3 separate regions of the Homo sapiens genome follow, and regions 1 and 2 are each linked to region 3. Evidence: promoter capture Hi-C in human tissues and cell types (Jung and others, 2019). All regions are on one chromosome and are shown on one strand. Each heading gives the region's core, a stretch centred on a gene start or on the middle of the fragment in contact. The rest is flanking DNA. Distances are from core to core; before and after follow the strand shown.

The links. Contacts are between HindIII fragments. The study calls those that stand out against the background at their distance.
Region 1: a contact is called between a fragment that was not itself captured here and the fragment with the promoter of RAB3IL1 in region 3, in 1 of the 25 tissues and cell types used here (spleen).
Region 2: a fragment that was not itself captured here is called in contact with the fragment with the promoter of RAB3IL1 in region 3 in 3 of the 25 tissues and cell types used here (H1 embryonic stem cells, aorta and stomach).

The regions. Positions count from the first base shown.
Region 1 is chr11:62,076,518-62,080,440 of GRCh38, forward strand. All of the region lies in intron 1 of LINC02733 (long intergenic non-protein coding RNA 2733), which reads right to left. Among named protein-coding and RNA genes, the nearest start is that of LINC02733, 3.8 kb to the right of the region's middle. The HindIII fragment of the contact is 3,887 bases long and covers 1-3,585 here.
Region 2 is chr11:62,059,235-62,063,662 of GRCh38, forward strand. The region is part of intron 1 of LINC02733 (long intergenic non-protein coding RNA 2733); the gene reads right to left. Among named protein-coding and RNA genes, the nearest start is that of LINC02733, 21 kb to the right of the region's middle. The HindIII fragment of the contact is 8,729 bases long and covers 1-4,428 here.
Region 3 is chr11:61,916,011-61,920,263 of GRCh38, forward strand. RAB3IL1 (RAB3A interacting protein like 1) reads right to left here and starts at 1,556. Exons shown (of 10, transcript NM_013401.4): 1 at 1,347-1,556. The coding sequence starts at 1,357. The HindIII fragment of the contact is 7,999 bases long and covers 199-4,253 here.

The DNA of each region.
Region 1 (3,923 bases), core at 392-2,891, 160 kb after region 3:
TCTGCCTGCCTCGGCCTCCCAAAATGCTGGGATTACAGGCGTGAGCCACCACGCCCAGCCTACACTCATATTTACGTGAGCACTTTGATGGGTTGTGACAAACATTTATACCCACGTATCCACCAACACAACAGGACATAGAACATTTCCACCACCCCAGAACTTTCCTCACGTCCCTTTATGATCCATACCACTCCCACCTTGGTCCCAGGACTGGGAAACCACTGACCTGCTTTTTTGTTGTATTAAGTTGTTTGTCCTTTTCTATTTTCCTTTCCCTATTTTATTTTATTTATTTATTTTTTTGAGAGGGAGTCTCGCTCTGTTCCCCAGGCTGGAGTGCAATGGCATGATCTCTGCTCACTGCAACCTCTGCCTCCCGGGTTCTAGGGATTCTCCTGCCTCAGCTTCCTGAGTAGCTGGGATTACAGGTGCCCGCCACCAGGTATGCCTCATTTTTATGTTTTTAGTAGAGATGGGGTTTCACCATGTTGTTCAGGCTGGTCTCGAACTCCTGACCTCAGGTGATCCACCCGCCTCAACCTCCCAAAGTGCTAGGATTACAGGGGCGAGCCACCACGCCCGGCCCTTTCCCTATTTTAGATGAAGGAAATCACTCTATTGTGTCCAGCCTCTTTTGCTTGGTATAATGCGTTGAGATTTACCATGTTGTTACGTCTGTCAGTACTTAATTGCTTTTGATTGGTGAATATTGTCTTAGTATTTTTGGGCTGTTGTAACAAAATACCTTAGACTGGGTAATTTGCAATCTATGTACATTTATTGCTCACAGTTCTGGAAGCTGGGAATTCCAAGAACATGGCATCAGCAGATTCACTGACTGATGAGGGCTTGCTCTCAGTTTCAAGGATGGTGCTTTCTAGCTGTGTCTTCACATGGGAAAAGACATAAACACGTTCTCTCAGGCCTCTTTTTTTTTTTTTTTTGAGACAGGATCTCTGTGCTAGAATGGCAACTGAAAATAAAAAAAGAAAAAATATGCTAGAATGATAATTGAAAATAAAGTTTTTAAAAAAAGATAGGGTTTCCCTGTGTTGGCCACACTGGAGTGTAGTGGCGGGATCACGGCTCACTCAGTCCTCTTTTATAAGGGCCCTGATTCTTTCATGAGGCTTTACCCTCATGAACATATCACTTCCTAAAGGCCCCATCTCTTTTATTTATTTATTTTTTTGAGATGGAATTTCGCTCTTGTTGCTCAGGCTAGAGTGCAATGGCGCCATCTCGGCTCACTGCAACCTCCACCTCCTGGGTTCAAGCGATTCTCCTGCCTCAGCCTCCCAAGTAGCTGGGATTACAGGCATGCACCACCATGCCAGGCCAATTTTGTATTTTTCTTTTTTTTCTTGAGATGGAGTTTTGCTGTTGTTGCCCAGGCTGGAGTGCAATGGCGTGATCTCGGCTCACTGCAATCTTTGCCTCCCAGGTTCAAACGATTCTCCTGCCTGAACCTCCCAAGTAGCTGGGATTACAGGCATCTACCACGCCCAGCTAATTTTGTATTTTTAGTAGAGATGGGGTTTCACCATGTTGGCCAGGCTGGTTTTGAACCCCTGACCTCAGGTGATCCACCTGCCTCGGCTTCCCAAAGTGCTGGGATTACAGGCGTGAGCCACCGCACCCAGCCAGGCCCCACCTCTTAACACAGGCTGAGCACCATCATTCAAAATGTGTTTTTTTTTTTTTAGACGGAGTCTCACTGTCACCCAGGCTGGCACAATCTCAGGTTACTGCAGCCTCTTCCTCCTGGGTTCAAGCGATTCTCCTGCCTCAGCCTCCCCAGTAGCTAGGATTACAGGCAACCACCACCACGCCCGACTAATTTTTGTATTTTTAGTAGAGACAGGGTTTCACCATGTTGGCCAGGCTGATTTTGAACTCCTGACCTCAGGTGATCCGCCTGCCTTGGCCTCCCAAAGTGCTGGGATTACAGGCGTGAGCCACCACGCTGGGCTTTGAAAAGCTTTTTGAGTACCAATGTGACCCTCAAAGGAAATGGTCATTGGAGCATTTCAGATTTCTGCTTTTTGGATTTGGGATGCCAGTAAATATTATGCAAATATTCCAAATCCAAAATGCTTCTGTTTCTAAGCATTCCAGATAAGGGATAGTTAGATTTCAACATATGAGTTTTGCGGGACAGAAACATTTAGATCATAGCAAATGGTATTCCATTCTATGGATATGCCACAATTCCTTTATTCATTCTCCTGTTGATGGATATTTGGGTCCTTTCTAGTTTGGGGGTTATTATAAATAAAGCTGCCAAGAACTTCTTCAGACAAATCTTTATGAGTATACATATTTTCTCTTGGGTAAACACCTACAGGTGAAATTGCTGGATCATGAAGTAAGTATATGTGAACTTTATAAGAAACTGCCAAAATGTTTTCCAAAATAGTTGTGTCATTTTTCATTCCCATCAGCAGCATATGAATGTCCCAGTTGTTCCACATCCTTGGCAACACTTGGCATTATCAGTTCGTTTACTTTTAGCCATTTTGGTGGGTGAAAAGTGGTATGTCACTGTGTTCTTAATTTGCATTTATTTGAATATAAGGTGAGGGCTTCCCCCCACCAAAATAGCATCCTTTGGAAAGAAGGGAGTTATATTTCTGTTCTTTTTTTTTTTTCTTTGAGACAGAGTTTTGCTCTTGTTGCCCAGGCTGGAGTGCAATGGTGTGATCTCGGCTCACTGCAACCACCACCTCCTGGGGTTTAAGTGATTCTCCTGCCTCAGCCTCCCGAGTAGCTGGGATTACAGGCATGTGCCACCATACCCAGCTAATTTTTGTATTATTAGTAGAGATAGAGTTTCACCATGTTTGCCAGGCTGGTCTCAAAGTCCTGACCTCAGGTGATCTGCCTGCCTTGGCCTCCCAAAGTGCTGGGATTACAGGTGTAAGCCACCGTGCCCGGCCTATATTTGTGTTCTTATAAAGTGCCTGAAAAGCTGGAGGACAATGGAGCAATGCCTTGAAAAGATTTATGGGAAAATGATTTCCTACCTGGAATTCAATTCCTAACCAGATCATCAATCAAGCAGAAGCAGAACAAAAGCCACTAAAAGACATGGAAAGTTTTCAAAAATTTTCACTACCGAGCATCCACCTCCAGAAGTCTTGAGGATGCGTTCTATAAAAATGAAGGAGTAAACCAGGAAAGAGAAAGCCATGAGACCCAGGAATCTAGGGCTCAACACAGGAGAGAAGAAAAGGAAATCCTCAGGGTGCTGGTGCAGGGAGATCCCAGGATGACAGCAACCTGGCCATTTGGGAGCCAGTCAGAAGGTGCTGGGAAAAATAGCCCAAGAAGATGATACTGGTAAAGTGCACTTTTCTTTTTTACTTTTTGAGACAGGGTCTCACTTTCTTGCTTTGTCACACAGGCTAGTTTGCAGTGGTGCCAACATGGCTCACTGCAGCCTCTATCCCCAGGCTCAAGCAATCCTTTTGCCTCAGTCTCCTGAGTAATTGGGACTGCAGCTGCACACCACCACAGCCTGTGGCTTATTTATTTATTTATTTATTTATTTATTTATTTATTTGAGATGGAGTCTTGCTCTGTCACCCAGGCTGGAGTGCAATGGTGTGATCTCAGCTCACTGCAACCTCCGCCTCCCGGGTTAAAGTGATTCTCCTGCCTCAGCCTCCTGAATAGCTGGGACTACAGGCCCGTGCCACCATGCCTGGCTAATTTTTGTATTTTTAGTAGAGCGGGGTTTCACCGTGTTAGCCAGGATGGTCTCGATCTCCTAACCTCATGATCCGCCCACCATGGACTCCCAAAGTCTTAGGATTACAGGCGTGAGCCACCGCACCCTGCGGCTAATTTTTTTATGTTTCTTATAGAGACGAGATTTCACCATGTAGCCTAGGCTAGTTTCAAACTCCTGAGCTCAG
Region 2 (4,428 bases), core at 1,043-3,542, 140 kb after region 3:
TATAATAATGTATTAAGGCCATATATTTGTTCAGTGTGGGTTTTACCTGTGTGGTTTCTTTTTTTTTTAAGTGTATATTATTTGTGTATGTGTGTAGTACTTGTGGTTTGTTTTCCTGTCTTTGAGACAGAGTCTCTGTCACCCAGGCTGGAGTGCAGTGGCGCTATCTCAGCCTACTGCAACCTCCGCCTCCTGGATTCAAGCGATTTTCGTGCCTCAGCCTCCCAAGTAACTGGGACTACAGGTGTGCACCACTACTCCTAATTTTTTTTTTTTTCGTATTTTTAGTAGAGATGGGGTTTCACCATGTTGGCCAAACTGGTCTTGAACTCCTGACCTCAAGTGATCCGCCCCCCTCAGCCTCCCAAAGTGCTAGAATTACAGGCGTGAGCCACCGTGCCCGACCTGTACTGTGGCTTTTATTTGACAATAAAACAGTTCTTTAAAATGTACCCTGGGGGCAGAGCTGGGCATAGTGGTCCTTGCCTGTAATCCCAGCACTTCGAGAGGCCAAGGTGGGAGGATTGCTTGAGCTCATGAATTTGAGACCAGCCTGGGCAACATGGCAAGACCCCGTCTCTACAAAAAAAATTTAAAAATTAGCCGAGTGTGGTGGTGCGTGCCTGTAGTCCCAGCTACTCGGGATACCGAGTCAGGAGGATTGCTTGAGCCCAGGAGGTTGAGGCTGCAGTGAGCCATGATGGCACCACTGCAATCCAGCCTGGGTGACAGAACAAGACTGTGTCTTTTAAAAAAAGAAAAGAAAGGGCCGGGCGTTGTGGCTCACGCCTGTAATCCCAGCACTTTGGGAGGCCAAGGTGGGTGGATCGCTTGAGGTCAGGAGATCGAGACCAGCCTGGCCAACGTGGTGAAACCCAGTCTCTACTAAAAATACAAAAATTAACCAGGTATGGTGGTGGGTGCCTGCAATCCCAGCTACTCAGGAGGCTGAGGCAGGAGAATTGCTTGAACCTGGGAGGCAGAGGTTGCAGTAAGCCGAGATTGTGCCATTGCACTCTAGCCTGTGCAACAAGAGCGAAACGCCATCTTGAAAAGAAGAGAAAAATATCCCTTGGGTCTAGTCCCAGTGCTGCCACACAAAGGCCACCTCTCTTTCTGCTCTCCCATCCTGCCTTTGTCACAATTCTGACCCGTTTAGAACCTAACCTAAGTCAAGGCCTGGACAGAGTTATTCTAAAGCAAAGTGACTGAGTGTATGTGTGTGTGTGTGTGTGTGTGTGTCTCCAAGTGTACATATTTCCTTTTTACTTCTGAGATTATACCTTCTGGGACAGGTGGAAACCTTTCTTTTTCAAGTCCTTCATCTTCAGTGGCTACTTACCATCCCCATAGCTGGAGTTTAAGGAAATCTATCCCTAAAGAAGGGGTCCAACCTCAGTCTTAACTTTTTTTTTTTTTTGAGACAGAGTTTCACTATTGTTGCCCAGGCTGGAGTGCAATGACACGATCTCCACTCACCACAACCTCCGCCTCCCGTGTTCAAGCAATTCCTCCTGCCTCAGCCTCCCAAGTAGCTGGGATTACAGGTGTGCGCCACCACGCCTGGCTAATTTTGTATTTTTAGTAGAGACGGGGTTTCTCCATGTTGGTCAGCCTGGTCGTAAACTCCCAACCTCAGGTGATCCGCCCACCTCAGCCTCCCAAAGTGCTGAGATTACAGGTGTGAGCCACCGCGCCCAGCCATCTCTCTTTATTTGAGATGGAGTCTCACTGTGTCTCCAAGGCTGGAGTGCAGTGGTGCAATCTTGGCTCACTGCAACCTTCGCCTCCCGGGTTCAAGTGATTCTTGTGCCTCAGTCTCCCAAGTACCTGGGATTACAGGCATGCACCACCACACTCGGCTCCTTTTTTTTTTTTTTTTTTTTTGAGACAGGGTCTCTCTGTTGCTCAGGCTGGAGAGCAGTGGGGCAATCATAGCTCACTGTAACCTTGAACTCCTGGGCTCAAGCGATCCTCCTGCCTTGGCCTCCCAAAGTGCTGGGATTACAGGCATAAGACACCACGCCTGGCTAATTTTTGTATTTTCAGTAGAGAGGGGGGTTTTCGTATGTTTGCCAGGCTGGTCTTGAACTCCTGACCTCAGGTGATCCGCCTGCCTTGACCTCCCAAAGTGCTGGGATTACAGGTGTGAGCCACTGCACCTGGTCTTATTAACTCTCTAGAAGGCCTTAGCAGCCCCAATTTGCTTGCTGAACAGATCTTCCTTGCATGAGTTGGATAAAACTTCTCTCCAAAATTTCATGTATGCACTTTTTACCTGATGAGCAGGTAAGCTTTACATTTTTATCCCACGAGCGCCACCTTCCTATCTCTCTTTGCTATTTTTCTCTCTTTATCTGCACTGCTTGCTTCACATTTACTCCTTTCTGCATTTGGAAAGAGAAGAGGGAAAATGCATTTTAAAAAAAGAGGCGAGAAATGGAAACTAGAGAGGCCTCCCACTGGCCTCCCCCTATGGTGGCGTCCACTTAGCCACTTGGCCTCCGCCGTTCTGCTGCAGAAAAGTCAGTCTGTGTCTACGCTCATCCTGAAAACAGGCAGAGGTAGGAGCAAGGAGGCCTCCCACTGCCTTCTCTGGGGAGGGATCCTAAGTCCCGCGGAACATTTATAGAGTCCCTGCTCTCCAACAAGGCAAGAACCTTGTTGCAAAGGAGCACAAAGATCCCCAGAGAAGCCTGTGCAGGAAAGATAAAATGGAAAAACCCACAGTCAAAAAAGAAAGAAAAACAGCTGTGGCATTCCGAAAAGACAAGCGTCCACTGTTCTCTAATGTGGCTGGTTTTCCTAACTCCTCACATACTGATTCCCTCTTCATTGGATGTCCCCAAGGCCAGAGCACAGTCTGATTTGTCCAGAGCCACTTTGTGAGTGGAAAAAAAAACCAACTGATTTTCCTCTGCTCTCACACTACACAATAAAGACAGAAGACTTCTGTGACCAAATGTGTGGGTTTTTTTCCCCACATGCCAAGCAATCAATCAATTTTGCCATGGACACCAGCTGAGCGTCCTCCAGTTTAATTCTGACACCACCTACCCAGAAATAGCATCAGATCTCCCAGGTTTAGAGCTCAGTGCCTCAGGACTGCCCCCCTCGCTTTAGACACCAGTTGCATCTCAAGATGCGTGATGCAATTAGGCGCATAGCCAGACATACTTTACCCCAGGCTGGGGCTCAGGGCCCAGGTTCTAGTCCCAGCAATGCCTCCAACAGGGTGTGAGAATGAGCTATTTCCTCTACTTCTGTTTGTACCAATGAAATACACAAAAACACCACTAGCCCTGGGCCCAGGCTTTCACTGTCAAAGGGATTTGAAGAATTTTGTCATCATATTTGAACCTCAAAACAGTCCCAGGAGAAGCAGGCCATGTTTTAAGATGATGTCATCCATTGCTTTCTTGGTATGAACTAAGCACCTTGCCCTCCCTCCCTCTTCCTAGGGGAAGGCTTAGACATTTCTGGCTCCAGTCAATTAACAACCTCATCTTGACTGACTTATTGAAAGAATTAAGTAGCTGGGATTACAGGCATGTACCACCATGCCCAGCTAATTTTGTATTTTTTAGAGAAGACTGGGTTTCACCATGTTGGTCATGCTGGTCTTGAACTCCTGACCTCAGGTGATCTACCCGTCTTGGCCTCCCAAAGTGCTGGGATTACAGGCATGAATCACCATGCCCGGCAACCATCACAGGTCATGATGGTTGCAGGGGTCCTGTAATCATCTCTCAGTCCTTGCTGATCCATGTGTAAGGTGCAGTTCCTCTGGTGTTAATGCCTAGCAAATGGACTTTGTATCTTAATATGAAGGAAAGGGAAGGTGCTATGGTCTAAATGTTTGTATCTCCCCAAAATTTATATGCTGAGACCTAACCCCAAGATGATGGTATTAGGAGGCAGGGCCGTTGGGAAGTGATTAAGTCATGACAGCAGAGCTCTCATGCATGGGATGAGTATCCTTCGAGGCCCTAAAGAGACCCCTCACTCTAGAAGATGCCGTCTGTGAACCAGAAAGCAGGCCCTCCCCAGATACCAAATCTGCAGGCACCTTGATCTTGGACTTCCCAGCCTCCAAAACTGTGAAAAAAAGAACTGTTGACTGACCAGCTTCAAGGGTTCCCACGGCCCCCTCTTTAGGCTCAATTAATTTGCTAGAGCAACTTACAGGATTCAGGGAAATACTGATGTTTACCAGTTTATTATAGAAGATATGACGAAGGATACAGATGAAGAGGTGCATAAAAAGAGATATGGGGGTGCTGAGTGTGGTGGCTCACACCTGTAATCCCAGCACCTTGGGAGGTTGAGGTGGGCAGAGCACAAGGTCAGGAGTTTGAGACCAGCCTGGCCAACATGGTGAAACCCCATCTCTACTAAAAAAATTTAAAAATTAGCTGGGCATGGTGG
Region 3 (4,253 bases), core at 306-2,805:
GACAGAGTGACACTCTGTCTCAAAAAAAAAAAAAAAAGAGTCTCAAGTCTTAGGGCAGGGCGTGGTGGTAAAAGCCTGTAATCCTAGCACTTTGGGAGGCTGAGGCTGGTGGATCACCTGAGGTCAGGAGTTCGAGACCAGCCTGATCAATATTGTGAAACCCCGTCTCTACTAAAAATACAAAAATTAGCCGGGTGTGGTGGTGTGTGCCTGTAGTCGCAGCTACTCAGGAGGCTGAGTCAGGCGAATTGCTTGTACTCAGGCAGCGGAGGTTGCAGTGAGCTGAGATCTCGCCACTGCACTCCAGCCTGGGTGACAGAGCAAGACTCCGTCTCAAAAAAAAAAAAAGTCCCAAGCCTCTCCACACCTCACCCCTAACAGGAGCCCACTCTCTCCACACCCCCTGCTGGGGATGAAAGGCCATCCCTCCCCTAGCATCGCAGCTCAACCTTTGCTAGGTGCCATGGAGTGAAGTGGATCCTGCCTGCCTTTCCGGGGGGCTTCCCTCACTCCCCAGCTGTAGCTGGGCAGTAGCCCTCTCCTGGGACCACTCATCTGGCCCAGGGGGCACAGGAGTACAACCTGTCCCCCATTCTGGCCACATTTCCTCCACGACCTGGTCTTTCCCGGCCACGGGGAAGAGGAAGTGTTTGCCCAACTCCACAAAAACACCACAACCTTTCTGCACATACAGGGCAGGGGTCCCACATCAGATGGGCCAGGAACTGCAACTGCCCCTGAGAACCAGTGGCCTGAACAGACACAGCCACTGGGGCCACTAATCCAGGACCCAGAGTCTCTGCTACCCCACTCCAGGCTGCGGGGCCGGGGCGGGGGGGGTTCCCACTCCACACCTCTGAGAGCCTCCGTACTTCCAGAGCCCCACAAGGAGGTTCTGCCCTCAACTTGGGAGCCACCCTGGCAAAGACCCAGCCCCTCTTTCCCAGCTACACTGCTTTCCAAGAGTTCATCCAGCGAAGGGGTTGAGGGACAGGTTGGGAGGGTGGGCTGGGGGTCCTTCCTCTAGGTGCATGCCCCAGAGTCGTGCACACTCTTCCCCACACCCCAACTCTTCTCACTTGCGCTCCTGATGAGCTAAGAGGAGTTGACGCTGTCACCCCGGGACGGTCGGCTGCCCACCCTTCGCACCCTGCACCCCGAGAGACACCCCCGACCCCTCCCCCGGAGTCTCCTGGCTGCAAGTCGGCTCGCCTGCAGGCAGGGCGGGGGCGCACAGCACCTCCGGGTGGCGGCGCAGACCCGGCGGGGACCCCCGAAATCCTCCCGTCCCGGGAGGCGACCGCGGCCCAGACCCAGCGCGGGACCGCGAGCGCGCGCGGACCTACCCGCTCCACATCCCGGCGCCTCGGGGCGCCCAGGCGTCCGTTCCCAGCGCCGCCGCGTCCTCCCAGCGCCGCGTCCCCGCCCGCCGCCGACTCCGCCAGGGGCCGAGCCGCCCCACCGCCTGTCAGCCCTGCCCGCGGCCGGTCAGTAGGTCTCAGACGCCTGGGCTCGCGGCCCCCAGCCCAGCCCCGACCCTGCCCTGGGCGGGTCACGTGGCGGAGGGGGGAGCGGCCCGAGGACACGTGCCCGGCCCCGCCCCTCCGCCGGCCCGGCGCTGGGATCCGGCGCGCGCTCCCAAGGCCTGGCCCCACCCGGCCCGCCGCGCCGGGACAGGGAGACCACGGCGCTCGGAGGGAACCCGGCCCCCAACATCCCGCGGGCCGCGCCGCGCTCAGACTCCCCAGCTGACTCCTCCTCTCCAGTCGCCCTCCGCACCACCCACTTTGGGCCACCCCTGCTCAAGAACCTACAATGGCTCCCGAGCTCTCAGCTCTTCGATTCTCACACAGATTGTCACTTAAGGCCAGCAGACACCCTCCCCCCTCCTCACCCGGCCCTCCTTCCCTAGGCTGTCTGCTTAGTGCCTGTCCCTGTGCAACATCCTGCCTGCTGGGAAGGGGAGGGGACAAACCCGAAACAAGTTTTCTGAGTCCTACTCTCTGAGTTTTATCCCGAAGGAGTTTCCACTTCTGGTCCAACTCTCCTCACTCAGCCTCCTGCCACTTAACACGCTCTGCCCATCCCTGCCTTTACTCACCATCTGCCCTCTGGATAGTATTCCCCACCCCACCCCCACCGACACACACACATACACACACCTGTCTGGTCCCACATCCTCCGTGAAACCTTCCCTGAATCCCAGACGACTGGTCTACCTGTCCCTCAGTTCCTCTGTCCCACCCATTCTGAGTCCTGATCATTCGTCTCAACTTCAGCCTGGGACTGGACCAGTAAGAGCAGAACCCGTCTTCTCTCCCGCCAGGTACCATGGCTCCCACCTTCCCTGTCTAGGGGAGGACTGGGAGCGTGGTGGGAGGTACTTCCCCTTCTAGGTGCTACCAGAGGTCCCAGTGCTACCCCTCCAGGCCCACTGACTCAGGCCGCAGGCTCAAGTTAGTCAGATCTTCGTTTGAGGATACATTTTATTCATTCATTCTACTCATTCATACATTCAGCCACTCCATCTGAGCATAGACTATGGGGCATGCAAGGGGCTGGGGACCCAGCAGGAAACTGTACAGACATAGGTTCTGCCCTCCTGGGGCTCCACGTTGGTGGAGGATGGAGGATGGGGGACGTATTCTCTAAGACCTCCACGTCCAGGGCACAAATAGACAATGCTCTTTCCCCGCTGGGCACAGCGCACAGCAAGGTATGGAATCTGGAGAGTGGAGGCGAGGCTGGATTCTATGCCTTGCTTGCTCCCTTGGCCAGCACTTTGTGCAGTGAACAACCTAGGCAGTTCTCCATAGCATCCCTTCCAACTTTCTAGAATCATTCAGCCCAGGCGTCCCATAGCCATCACTCAGCAGGGCAGTTGTTTCCATGGCCACGGCTTCCAGAGGGCAGGGATTCTCTCTTTCTTGGAGCTATGTTCCCCTACCCCACCCCCAGCCCAGCTCAGGGTCTGGCCCACCCAAAGCAGATGTCCACATGTGTTTGCTGGCTTGAATCCCTCATCAGTTGGTCTTGAGCAACTGTTGTCTTCCTGGCCCTTATTTTGTTCACTATTTAGAGAAGGAGGAGAAAATGACACAAAAGGAACCCAGCACAGGGCCCTTGCCCTCCAAGTCTTCACAAGCCCCGGCAGGAGATAAGTCATGGCAACCCAGACCAGTGGGAGATAAAGGGTGGAGGAGGCGTCAGCTCAGGGCTATGTCCCTGGAGGAAGAGTCCTCAGCCTGGGAGGTCTGGTGGACCGGGGAGGCCCTTGAGCGAGGTCTTGAAGGACAAGTCTGTGGTCACCACTCTGGAAGCATCCACACTCAATTTCTAACCAAAAATAGCCTGTCATCCATGCTTCCTGCTACCATGGACTCCTAGGGCTCACTGCCTCCCCCAGTAGGGAGGACCCTCCTGCTCAGCTGAACTTGCTCCTCAGTTGAAAAGGATGGGCTCGGAGAAGTTAAGGAACCTGCCTGATATCACACCAGCCAGGGGCAGTGGGGCTGAGTCCTCTTACACCCGTTTTCCAAAAAGACCACCCAGAAACTAGAGGCTCACTGGCAGCTGCAGCTGTGTGCAGCCAGGCAGCAAGAGGTTCCTGAGCACATGCTAGGTGTCTGGCCAGTGGCAGGGAAGGGATAAATAAAAGTTGTGTCCTCTGCCTACAAGCCACTGCCCTCCTCAGCCTCCCTCCCTCTATCTCCCTCTGCCTGCTCCATCCCAAGCCTGGCAGCCTTGACCACAGACCCTTGGCTGAAGGCAGCTGAGGAGCAGGAGACAGTCAGCCTGGACAACCCAGGCCCTGATTCTGGACTTACAGGTGTGTCCTCAGCTCACTGTGTGACCCAGGATGAGTGTCTTGCCCTCTCTGAGCTTCAGTCTCCACCTCTGTACAGCCACCAAATTGGACAAGACAATCAGAGCCATTGCCTAGGACTCTCTGAGCCCAGCTTCTCACACTGGCTGCCCTGAAGCTTGCCAAGACTCCCCCTCCCCTCCATGCCCCAGGTCCTGAGCTCACCTGTCTGTGCCCCAGGGCTCTTCTCTCAAGTTCCCCTCAAGTACAGGGCACAGGCCTGATGGGGCGTAGCGGACAGTCCCTGCACTCATGGCCAGGAACACGGGACATGTCCCTCGGGCGGGGCACCCAGCGTGCTCCTCAGAAGAGTCCATGCTTGCAAGGCCAGACTGAGGGTCCCTCTGGAGGGTGCCGGGAAGGGAGGTAGCAGGAGCCTTCTTCCCCC